Linked DNA regions of Homo sapiens: region 2 is linked to region 1. Evidence: promoter capture Hi-C in human tissues and cell types (Jung and others, 2019). All regions are on one chromosome and are shown on one strand. Each heading gives the region's core, a stretch centred on a gene start or on the middle of the fragment in contact. The rest is flanking DNA. Distances are from core to core; before and after follow the strand shown.

Evidence for each region. The method cuts DNA at HindIII sites, captures the fragments that hold promoters and counts their contacts. A contact is called where the count stands out against the background at its distance.
Region 2: a fragment that was not itself captured here is called in contact with the fragment with the promoter of RNF216 in region 1 in 1 of the 25 tissues and cell types used here (dorsolateral prefrontal cortex).

What each region holds. Positions count from the first base shown.
Region 1 is chr7:5,779,761-5,784,376 of GRCh38, reverse strand. RNF216 (ring finger protein 216) reads left to right here and starts at 2,714. Exons shown (of 17, transcript NM_207111.4): 1 at 2,714-2,836. RefSeq lists a silencer at 2,916-3,305. The HindIII fragment of the contact is 32,599 bases long and covers 1-4,616 here.
Region 2 is chr7:5,352,561-5,357,176 of GRCh38, reverse strand. TNRC18 (trinucleotide repeat containing 18) reads left to right here. Exons shown (of 30, transcript NM_001080495.3): 16 at 1-261. Among named protein-coding and RNA genes, the nearest start is that of TNRC18-AS1, 64 kb to the left of the region's middle. RefSeq lists an enhancer at 552-1,054. The HindIII fragment of the contact is 4,908 bases long and covers 89-4,616 here.

The sequences.
Region 1 (4,616 bases), core at 1,465-3,964:
GGTGGATCACGAGGTCAGGAGATCGAGACCATCCTGGCTAACACGGCGAAACCCCATCTCTACTAAAAATACAAAAAAAAATTAGCCCTTGGTGGCGGGCGCCTGTAGTCCCAGCTACTCGGGAGGCTGAGGCAGGAGAACGGCGTGAGCCCAGGAGGCGGAGCTTGCAGTGAACCAAGATCGCGCCACCGCACTCCAGACTGGGTGGCACAGCAAGACTTCATCTCAAAAAAAAAAAAAAAAAAAGCTAGACTCAGAGAGGTTACTCGATCGCACCTGCCTTGGGTGTGACACCAACCACAGAGGGGTTCAGTGGTCCGGAAAGAACCTTGCACTCCTGCTAAGATCACCAAGCTCTCCTTCCAATACTGCTTTCTTCCAACATCTCAAAGGGCTTATGAGGACCATCCTAAGAAGAAGGCTGTAACTGACAGCGATTATCCACCTCCCCCAAGAGGACCAGCATGGAGGATAAGCTCATCAAGGCCAATGCCTTTGTTTTACCTTCCAGGTGATTCCAGGATCTCATCTCAGGTAAGTATCTATCTTAAACTCTCTCTCCTGTTCACCCTCTAATGTCTCCCATGCACTGCACCCTCTAACTCAGGGCCTGACATCTGTAAGATCCCTAGATCCTCGTCCTGTTCTGTAAGCAGCCCTTCAATTTCTACTTCACTGAAACATGACTATTCCCTCAGGACACTGTTCCCCAAAGCACTATGAGTAGTGGTCTTTTTCTGTCCCATGCAAGCCCCCATAAGCCACACTCTACTGTCTTAGAGAAGGAACACTCATTGCCGCATCAAGACTATTGTTCCTCTCATTTCCCTGTTTTGTTTTTGTTTGCTTCTTTTGAGACAGGCTGTTGTTCTGTCATCCAGGCTGGAGTGCAGCAGTGCAATCATAGCTCACAGCAGCCTCGGACTCCTGGGCTCAAACAATCCTCTGGCCGGGTTTAGTGGCTCGCTCCTGTAATTCCAGCACTTTGGTAGGCCGAGGTGGGTAGATTACCTGAGGTCAGGAGTTCAAGACCAGCCTGGCCAACATGGTGAAACCCTGTCTCTACTGAAAATACGAAAATTAGCCGGGCGTGGTGGCACATGCTTGTAATCCCAGCTACTCAGGAGGCTGAGGCAGGAGAATCGCTTGAGCCCAGAAGGTGGAGGTTGCAGTGAGCCAAGATCGTGCCACCGCACTCCAGCCTGGCTGACAGAGTGAGATTCTGTCCAAAAAAACAAAACAAACAAAACAAAACAAAACAAAAAAATCCTCCCACCTCAGTCTCCTGAGTAGCTGGGACTATAGGTGCGCACCACCATGCCCGGCTAATTTTTATTTTTGTAAAGATGGGGTCTTACTCTATTGCCCAGGATCGTCTCAAACTCCTGGCTTCAAGCCATCCTCCCACCTCCATTTCCCAAAATGTTCGGATTCCAGGTATAAGCCACTATGCCCAGCCCAGACTCATTTATCTAATTACTGACTTGATATCTCTACTTGAAGGTGTACTTGGCAATTTTTTTTTTTTTGAGACACAGTCTCACTCTGTTACCCAGGCTGAAGTGCAGTGGCATAATCACTGCACTACAACCTCCCCCTCCTCGGTTCAAGCAATTCTTGTGCCTCGGCCTCCCGAGTAGCTCGGATTACAGGCACGCACCACCATGCCCAGCTAATTTTTGTATTTTTAGTAGAGACGGGGTTTCACCATGGTGGCCAGGCTGGTCTCGAACTCCTGACCTCAAGTGATCTGCCTGCCTCGGCCTCCCAATGTGCTGGGATTACAGGCGTGAACCACCACGCCTGGCCAGCAATTATTTTAAGAGTTGGGGTCTTGCTATTTTGCTAAGGCTGGTCTTGAACTCCTGGCCTCAAGCGATCCTCCTGCCTTGGCCTTCCAAAGCGCGGGGATTATGGACATGAGCCACTGTGCCCAGCAGGAGCAGTATTTTAGTCAGTTATTCACTTGCTCACTAAAACCTAAACTTCCTGAGGCCAGGAACACATTTTACTTTTTTTTTTTTTCGAGATGGAGGGTTGCTCTGTTGCCCAGGCTGGAGTGCAGGGGCGCCATGTTGGCTCACTACAACCTCCGCCTCCCAGGTTCAAGTGATTTTCCCGCCTCAGCCTCCTGAGTAGCTGGGATTACAGGCATCCGCCACCATGCCTGGCTAATTTTTTTATTTTTGGTAGAGACGGGTTTCACCATGTTGGCCAGGCTGGTCTCCAACGTCTGACCTCAAGTGATCCACCCGCCTTGGCCTCCCAAAGTGCTGGGATTACAGGCGTGAGCCACTGTGCCCAGCCATGGGACCCACTTTACTCTTAATTTCCCCAATTCCTAGAACAGTGTGTGGCCCACAGGAAATCCGCAGAATATATTTGCAGAATGAATGAATGACTTGCCAAACGAATTAGGGCAAATCAGTAGATATCGAGTAAACATCCACAACCACCTGCCCCATACCCTTTTCAGCTCTGGGGAGATGGTGGCTCCTTGTGGGGTCGGATATGGGGGTCTCCTTTCCTTTCACCCTCCTGCCTCGTGGGGGAGTCAAGTCTCCGCAGGCGGAGAGCCCGGATGCAGGCGCGACTAGGCGGCCCTCTCTATGGTGAGCCCCCCGGTCCCTCCTCCGCAGTACCCGGAGTGCCTCTATGGTTCTTCCTGTCCTTAGTCGGGAGGGGGCGCTGTGCGCAGGCGCGAGGTGACGCCGCGGCAGGGCCGGAAGGAGTGCAGCGGCTGCCACGGAGCTCGCAGCTGCGGCTTCTGAGGAGTAAGCGGCGCGGTAGCGAAGGCCGCCGAACCTGCCTGGCTAGCCGGCGACTTGAGTGACGAGTGAGTGTCGGCTGCGGGGCGCGCTCGAGCTCCTGGGCGGGTCTGTGAGGCGACGCGGCCTCTCTGAGGGGCGCCTCTGTGGAGCTCCGGGGGTGGGGGCGGGGGCGCGGGCCGTGAGGGCCGCCGAGCTGAGGGGCGCGGGCCGAGGCCCGGGCGGGATCGGGCCAAGGGGCTGGGCTGGGCGTCTCGAGCCCGGTGCGGTGGCGAGGCTGGAGCGACAAAGGCGCTGAGCGGCCGGGTGGCCCCCTCTCGCCACTTCGCGAAGTTTCGCGGGCCGGCCCCTCGGGTCTGCTGCGCGAGGGCAACAGCCCGGGAGACCGCGCTTCCCTCCCCCGGGCCCGAGGCCGCCGCGGAGGCGGTGTCCGTGCACCCGAGCGCGGCCTGGAGGAGCGGCGGGAGGCGGGCCGTGCCTGTGAACCCCAGCCCAGGCGGGCGGCGTTTTTCCTCCTCTTCCCTCACATCTGGAGCGCGTGTTCCGCGAAAGTTGGCGACTGTCACCCGGCACTCGCGAGGGCGCCGCAAGTGCGTCAAACCCTTCTGCGGGGCGCTGGGGGCTGGCCCGGCTCGGGTGTCCGGGCGCTGGGCAGCGAGCGAGGCCGCTGTCCCCGCGTCGAGGTGGTTCTGCTCCCGGTGGAACAGGACCAGGGATCCAAGACTCTGGGCCACTTGCAACCAACCCTGGAGCGTGCGCGGCGTGCGGGTTACAGAAATTTCTGACAAATCCGACAGGGCTCTGTAAATCCCTAAGGGCCTGGGTAGCAGCTGTCCTAGGTACTTAGATCGTGCAAAGAGAACGTTCTTTTTTCTTTTACTTTTTTTTTTTTCTCCTTTTCTTTGAGACGGAGTCTTGCTCTGTTGCCCAGGCTGGAGTGCAGTGGCGCGATCCCGGCTCACTGCAAGCTCTGCCTCCCGGATTCAAGCGATTTTCCTGCCTCAGCCTCACAGGGATTGCCTCAGCTGGGATTACAGGCATTTGCCACCACGTCCAGCTAATTTTTGTATTTTTAGTAGAGACGGGATTTCTCCGTGTTGGCCAGGCTGGTCTCTAACGTCTGACCTCAGGTGATCCCTCCGCCTCGGCCTCCCAAAGTGCTACAGTCTTTTCAAAAGACGTTTCAGATATGTTCTCCGGGACCCTCGGGCCCTTCAGTAAGAAGCGCCCTGGCTGAAAACCCACACGTTCACCTACAGAAGAAGCACTGTGACGTAGAGGGTGAGCAGAGCAGAGGGCCTCACAGTGGCCCTCACATGCACCTGGCTCCAGCCTGGCCAGGTCATTTTGCCCTGGTGGGCCTGTGCCTCAAAAATGGGGTTTCTTCCCTTGTGAGGAAGACCCATGAATTAGTAACGGAATTGCCAGGAATGCTAAAAACTATCTAAATGCCATGTATTGTTTTCAAGCTGTTACTCCTGGAAGGGGCTGGGTTGGCATTGTTTTAGAGGTTAGGAGCCAAACATCAGCTCATCTATTCTCCAGCTGTTGTTTGTCCTCCATCTTCCTGCAATAGTCAGGCACAGGGTCTTATAAAAATGGGTTTGTGCTGCTGTATGTTTCGGTGGGTACCTTTGTTTACTGAATGGGATGTAGGTGGGGGACCAGAGCATATCCGCGTCCCTCGGAAACAGTGGCGTTTTAGATGTAGTATGTCCCGTCAGCTCCTCTCTGCCCCACCCACCCCAGCCCATTCATTGAGCATTTTTTTTTTTTTTTTGAGGCGGAGTCTGGCTGTATTTCCCAGGCTAAAGTGCAGTGGTGCCATCTCTGCCCACTGCACCCTCC
Region 2 (4,616 bases), core at 1,293-3,792, 430 kb after region 1:
CCTTCAAGTTTTCGGACAGTGCTGGGGGGAAATCGAAAACTAGCGGGGGCTGCGGCAGGTACTTGACTCCTTACGACAGCCTGCTGGGGAAGAACAGGAAGGCGCTGGCCAAGGGCCTCGGCCTGTCTCTGAAATCCTCCAGAGAAGGTAAACACAAAAGGGCAGCCAAAACCAGGAAGATGGAGGTGGGGTTCAAGGCCAGAGGCCAGCCCAAGTCGGCCCATTCCCCGTTTGCCTCGGAAGTGAGCAGCTACTCTTACAGTAAGTAGCGTATGCCGCGCCACCTCTGGTCCGCTGCTTCTCTCCTTTTCTCCCCTCTTCTCTCCACCGTCCTCCTTCCCCCCCCGCCCCTCACTCTCTCTCTCGCTCTCGCTCTCTCTCTGGGGCGCACTACAGTGCCTGAGCTTGGCATGGCCTCCAAGCCGGAAGTGGGGGGGGAGGCCGCCTGAAGCGGATATGCCTGTGACTGGCGGGTGTGATGCCAGGCAGGTGCTTGTGATTGGTGGGCGCCCGTGATTGGCGGTTGGGAGCCGACCTCCGCCGGCCCTGTCTTGCCCGCCCGCCATTTGCCTACCGGATGTCATAGGCGAGGAAGCCTTGTGCGTCATAGAGTTTGCGGCTGTTTGGCCTAGAGAGGCCTGGAGCGCGACTGCTCTTGAGGGTCCTAGAGGTGACCGGACTCCCCTACCCACAGGAAGCATGCCGTCTGTTGCGGACCACGGCTTTGTCGCGAAGTGTTGGCGGAAGCAGTGTTTATGGAGCGCCCACCGTGCTCGGCTATGGATGCAGGGGTTCATTGGCGTTACTGTGTCTGTGGCAGCTCTGACAGTGGTACCCCCATGTTGTTACTGGGGATGATGTGGCCCGAGAGCCAGAGGGGAGTGTGTGCGCTCGGGTGCGGAGAGGCGACTCGGGGTTAAACCTGGTTCGGCCCGACCCACCTACCCACTGGAACCTGCTGCCATCATGGCTGTGTCCCACTATTTTCTTTCTTTTTTTTTTTTTTTTAATTTGAGACGGAGTCTCACTCTGTCGTCCAGGCTGGAGTGCAGTGGTGCGATCTTGGCTCACTGCAACTTCTAGCTCCTGGGTTCAAGCGATTCCCTTGGCTCTGCCTCCCGAGTAACTGGGACTACAGGCTTGTGCCACCACACCCAGCTAATTTTGTATTTTTAGTAGAGACGGGGTTTTGCCATGTTGGCCAGGCTGGTCCTAAACTCCTGACCTCAGGTGATCCACCTGCCTCGGCCTGCAAAGTGCTGGGATTATGGGCGTGAGCTACTGTGCCGTGCGTTTTTTGAGACAGGGTCTCTTCTTATTGCTTAGGCTGGAGTGCAGTGGGGCCATCATAACTCACTGCAGCCTCGAGCTCCTGGGCTCAAGTGATCTTCCTGCCTTAGCCCTCCGAGTAGCTGGGACTAGGTGAGCACCACCACACCCGGCTAATTTTTAAAATTTTTTGTAGAGACAGGGTCTTGCAGTGTTTCCCAGGCTGGTGCCTGGGCTCAAGCAATCCTCCCCTCTGAACCTCCTGAGTATCTGGGACTACAGCTGTGTACCACCACGTGCAGCTAATTTATTTTTATTTTCGTAGAGATGGGGTCTCCCTGTTTTCCAGGCTAGTCTGGAACTCCTGGCCTTAAGCAAGCATCCCACTTTAGCCTCCCGAATAGCTGGGACCATAGGCGCACACTACTACTATTTTTATTTTTATAGAGGCTGAGTGTTGCTGTGTTGCCCATGCTGGTCTTAAACTCCTGGGATCAAGAGATCCTCCTGCCTCAGCCTCCCAAAGTGCTGGGATTACAGGCGTGAGCTGCCTTGCCTAGCTGCTATTGAGCTCTTGAAATGGAGCATTCCTGATGGGACTGAAGAATGGAGTTTTATCTCATTTAACAAGAGACTGTCAGATTGGAGCGTCCTCATGGTTATGGCCTCTTGTGGCCCAGAACCTGCTGCCTGGCAGGTAGTGGGTGCTTGCTCAGTATCTGTGGACAGAGCACCTCATGCCCAGGGCGGACAGGTGCTAAGTTTGTGGCTAGCTGCAGGGAGGCCAGAAGGAGGGAGCTTCCTGGGTTCTGGCCCATGTCAGTGTCAGTGGTGTTTGTTCTGGGAATCCCCAGGCCCTGGGGCGGGTGGAGAGCTTTTGCATTGGCAGCTGCCTGGTTCTGTGTGTCTGGGGCTTTTGATTGGCTCTGGCCGGTTCATGGGCGGAGAAGGGGGAGTTTGACTGTCAAGGGCGAAAAGTCGCCGTGTTTATTGATACCGTAAAGCATGTTTTCTTAAGGAAATAAAAAGTGTTTATGGACTCAGAGTTAAGATATCGTCACCTGCTTTACGGGGTCGTTGGGGGCCTTAAGTGAGCTTACGTGGGCAGAGAGCTGAACGTGGCACCTGGCACGGAATTAAGCTGCTAGTTTTTTCAGGGTGCGTGTGTTTCGTCTGTCCTAGGCTAGCAGGTCACCAGGACTCATGCTCCCTGTGGGTGTGAGTTAAGCAGCTGGCTCATGCCTTCTGTGCTGAGGACATATGAGAGTGTCGTGGTTTCAGTGCTTCTTTGATTGGGATGGGTGTGATCAGAGCAGTGTAGCCTAGGCTCCTGGCCAGTGTGTGGGCACAAGCAGGAAGAGACAGTGCCAGAGACTCATCACTCTGAGGGGGAAGGGAGGGGCTTTCTTTTGCTCTCTCAATCTCTGCTCATTTTGGAAAAGTGAAGGGGGTTCAGGGAAGTCGGGGGAGATTGCTGTTCTTTTGATCTTCTGAGGGATTGGGGTCTGTGGATGCAGTTTGGGTGGTAGCTGAAAGAATTCCCCACTTTCAGGTGGACGTGGATGGGGTGGAGCTGGAGGTCAGAGATGTGCTCTGTCTCTGATGTCTCTGGGGTGCTCCGAGCTGGTGTGTTCACTCTTGGCACGTGTGAGGGAATGTCCGTTTTATTTATTTATTAATTATTACTATTATTATTATTATTTTGAGATGGAGTTTTGCTGTTTTTGCCCAGGCTGGAGTACGGTGGCATGATCTCGGCTCACTGCGACCTCCGCCTCCCGGGTTCAAGTGATTGTCCTGCCTCAGCCTCCTGAGTAGCTGGGGTTACAGGCACGCACCACCACACCCAGCTAATGTTGTTATTTTTAGTAGAGACGGGGTTTCACCACATTGGCCAGGCTGGTCTTGAGCTCCTGACCTCAGGTGATCCGCCTGCCTCGGCCTCCCAAAGTGCTGGGATTAGAGGCATGAGCTGCCGTGCCTGGTCTGGGAATGGTCAAATGGGCAACTTCACTCCATCGTGCCTGTGTCGAAAACTCCACTGTCCTGGATGAGAGAAACGGACTCATGGAGCAGTGAGGAATTCAGTGGGCCTGGCTCCAGCAGGACGGTGGCTGTGGGATTCACCTGGCTCTGCAGAGCGCTCCTCTGTTTATTTTTTATAATCTGCTTTTCTGCAATTCTGGGTCAGAGAGAGTGCAGGGTTCACAAGGAGGTAGGGGTGTGTCCAGCAGGGAGTTGCTGAGCTGGACGGAGGTCGAAGCGAGAACGGTCTCCTCTTGCTTTTTCAGTTTCGATTGTAGGGGTCGCTGGCATGCCCTGTGGGTTTTTTTTTTTTTTTTTTTCTTTAGATGATGTCTTGCTCTGTCGCCCAGGCTGGAGTGCAGTGGTGTGATCTCGGCCGCACTGCAACCTCCACCTCCCGGGTTCAAGTGATCCTCCCACCTCAGCCTCCGGAGTAGCTGGGATAACAGGCCCTGTCCACTACAATACAATACAAATAGAAAATACAACAGTTTGTGTATTTTTTAAAAATACAGACGGGGTTTTGCCATGTTGGCCAGGCTGGTCTCGAACTCCTGGCCTCACGTGAGCTGCCCGCCTCAGCCTCCCAAAGTGGTAGGATTACAGATGCAAGCCATTGCACCCGACCTCCCTGTGGGTTCTTGTAGGAGGCCAAGTTGGTTGTCACCCACTTAGCCTCTCCAGCCTGGGACACAGCCTCGGGAGGGACAGATTGGAGCATACAAGAGAGAGCGCACTTTGACTGGTTCGATGGGCAGGGGCTGGTAGCCTGGCGGGGCTGGACCCTTGTCCCACCCAAGAGTTGCCGGACCATCCTGAGGTTGGGGTCTTGCTGGAGTGAAAGCTTAGGTGTTGGTGGGAGCAGTCAGAGGAATGCCCGCCACGGATGCGTGCATGTGGTTTCTCTTGGACTCGGAGGTGGCAGGTGCTGCCAGAGCTGTAGCTGTGTTGGTTCACGTTCCCCCCGTCTGGAGTGGATTTCAGCAGATCAGGGGATTATTCTCTGTCTCTGGAACCCCTGTCTTCCCATCTTGCCCAGTAAGAAAAGCAGATCAAAATGGCGTGAGCATGGCGGGGGCCGGAGCGTTGCCTGCCTGGCAGGCTCCCCTCCCAAAGCTGGCTGGTTGTCTCCCCGGAAGATTTGAAGACTCTTGTCCTCCGTTGTATAGTTAGGCTGGAGACTCTGGGGAAGCCAGCAGTGGTGGGCCGGCTCACTGGCTCGTAGAAAGAAGGGCAAGGGATCTGCTAGCGGTAACAGCGTTTGCCCATTCCCATGGTGTAAACACCCTTACTGTGGCCTGTTTCGTGCTGCCACTGGGAGG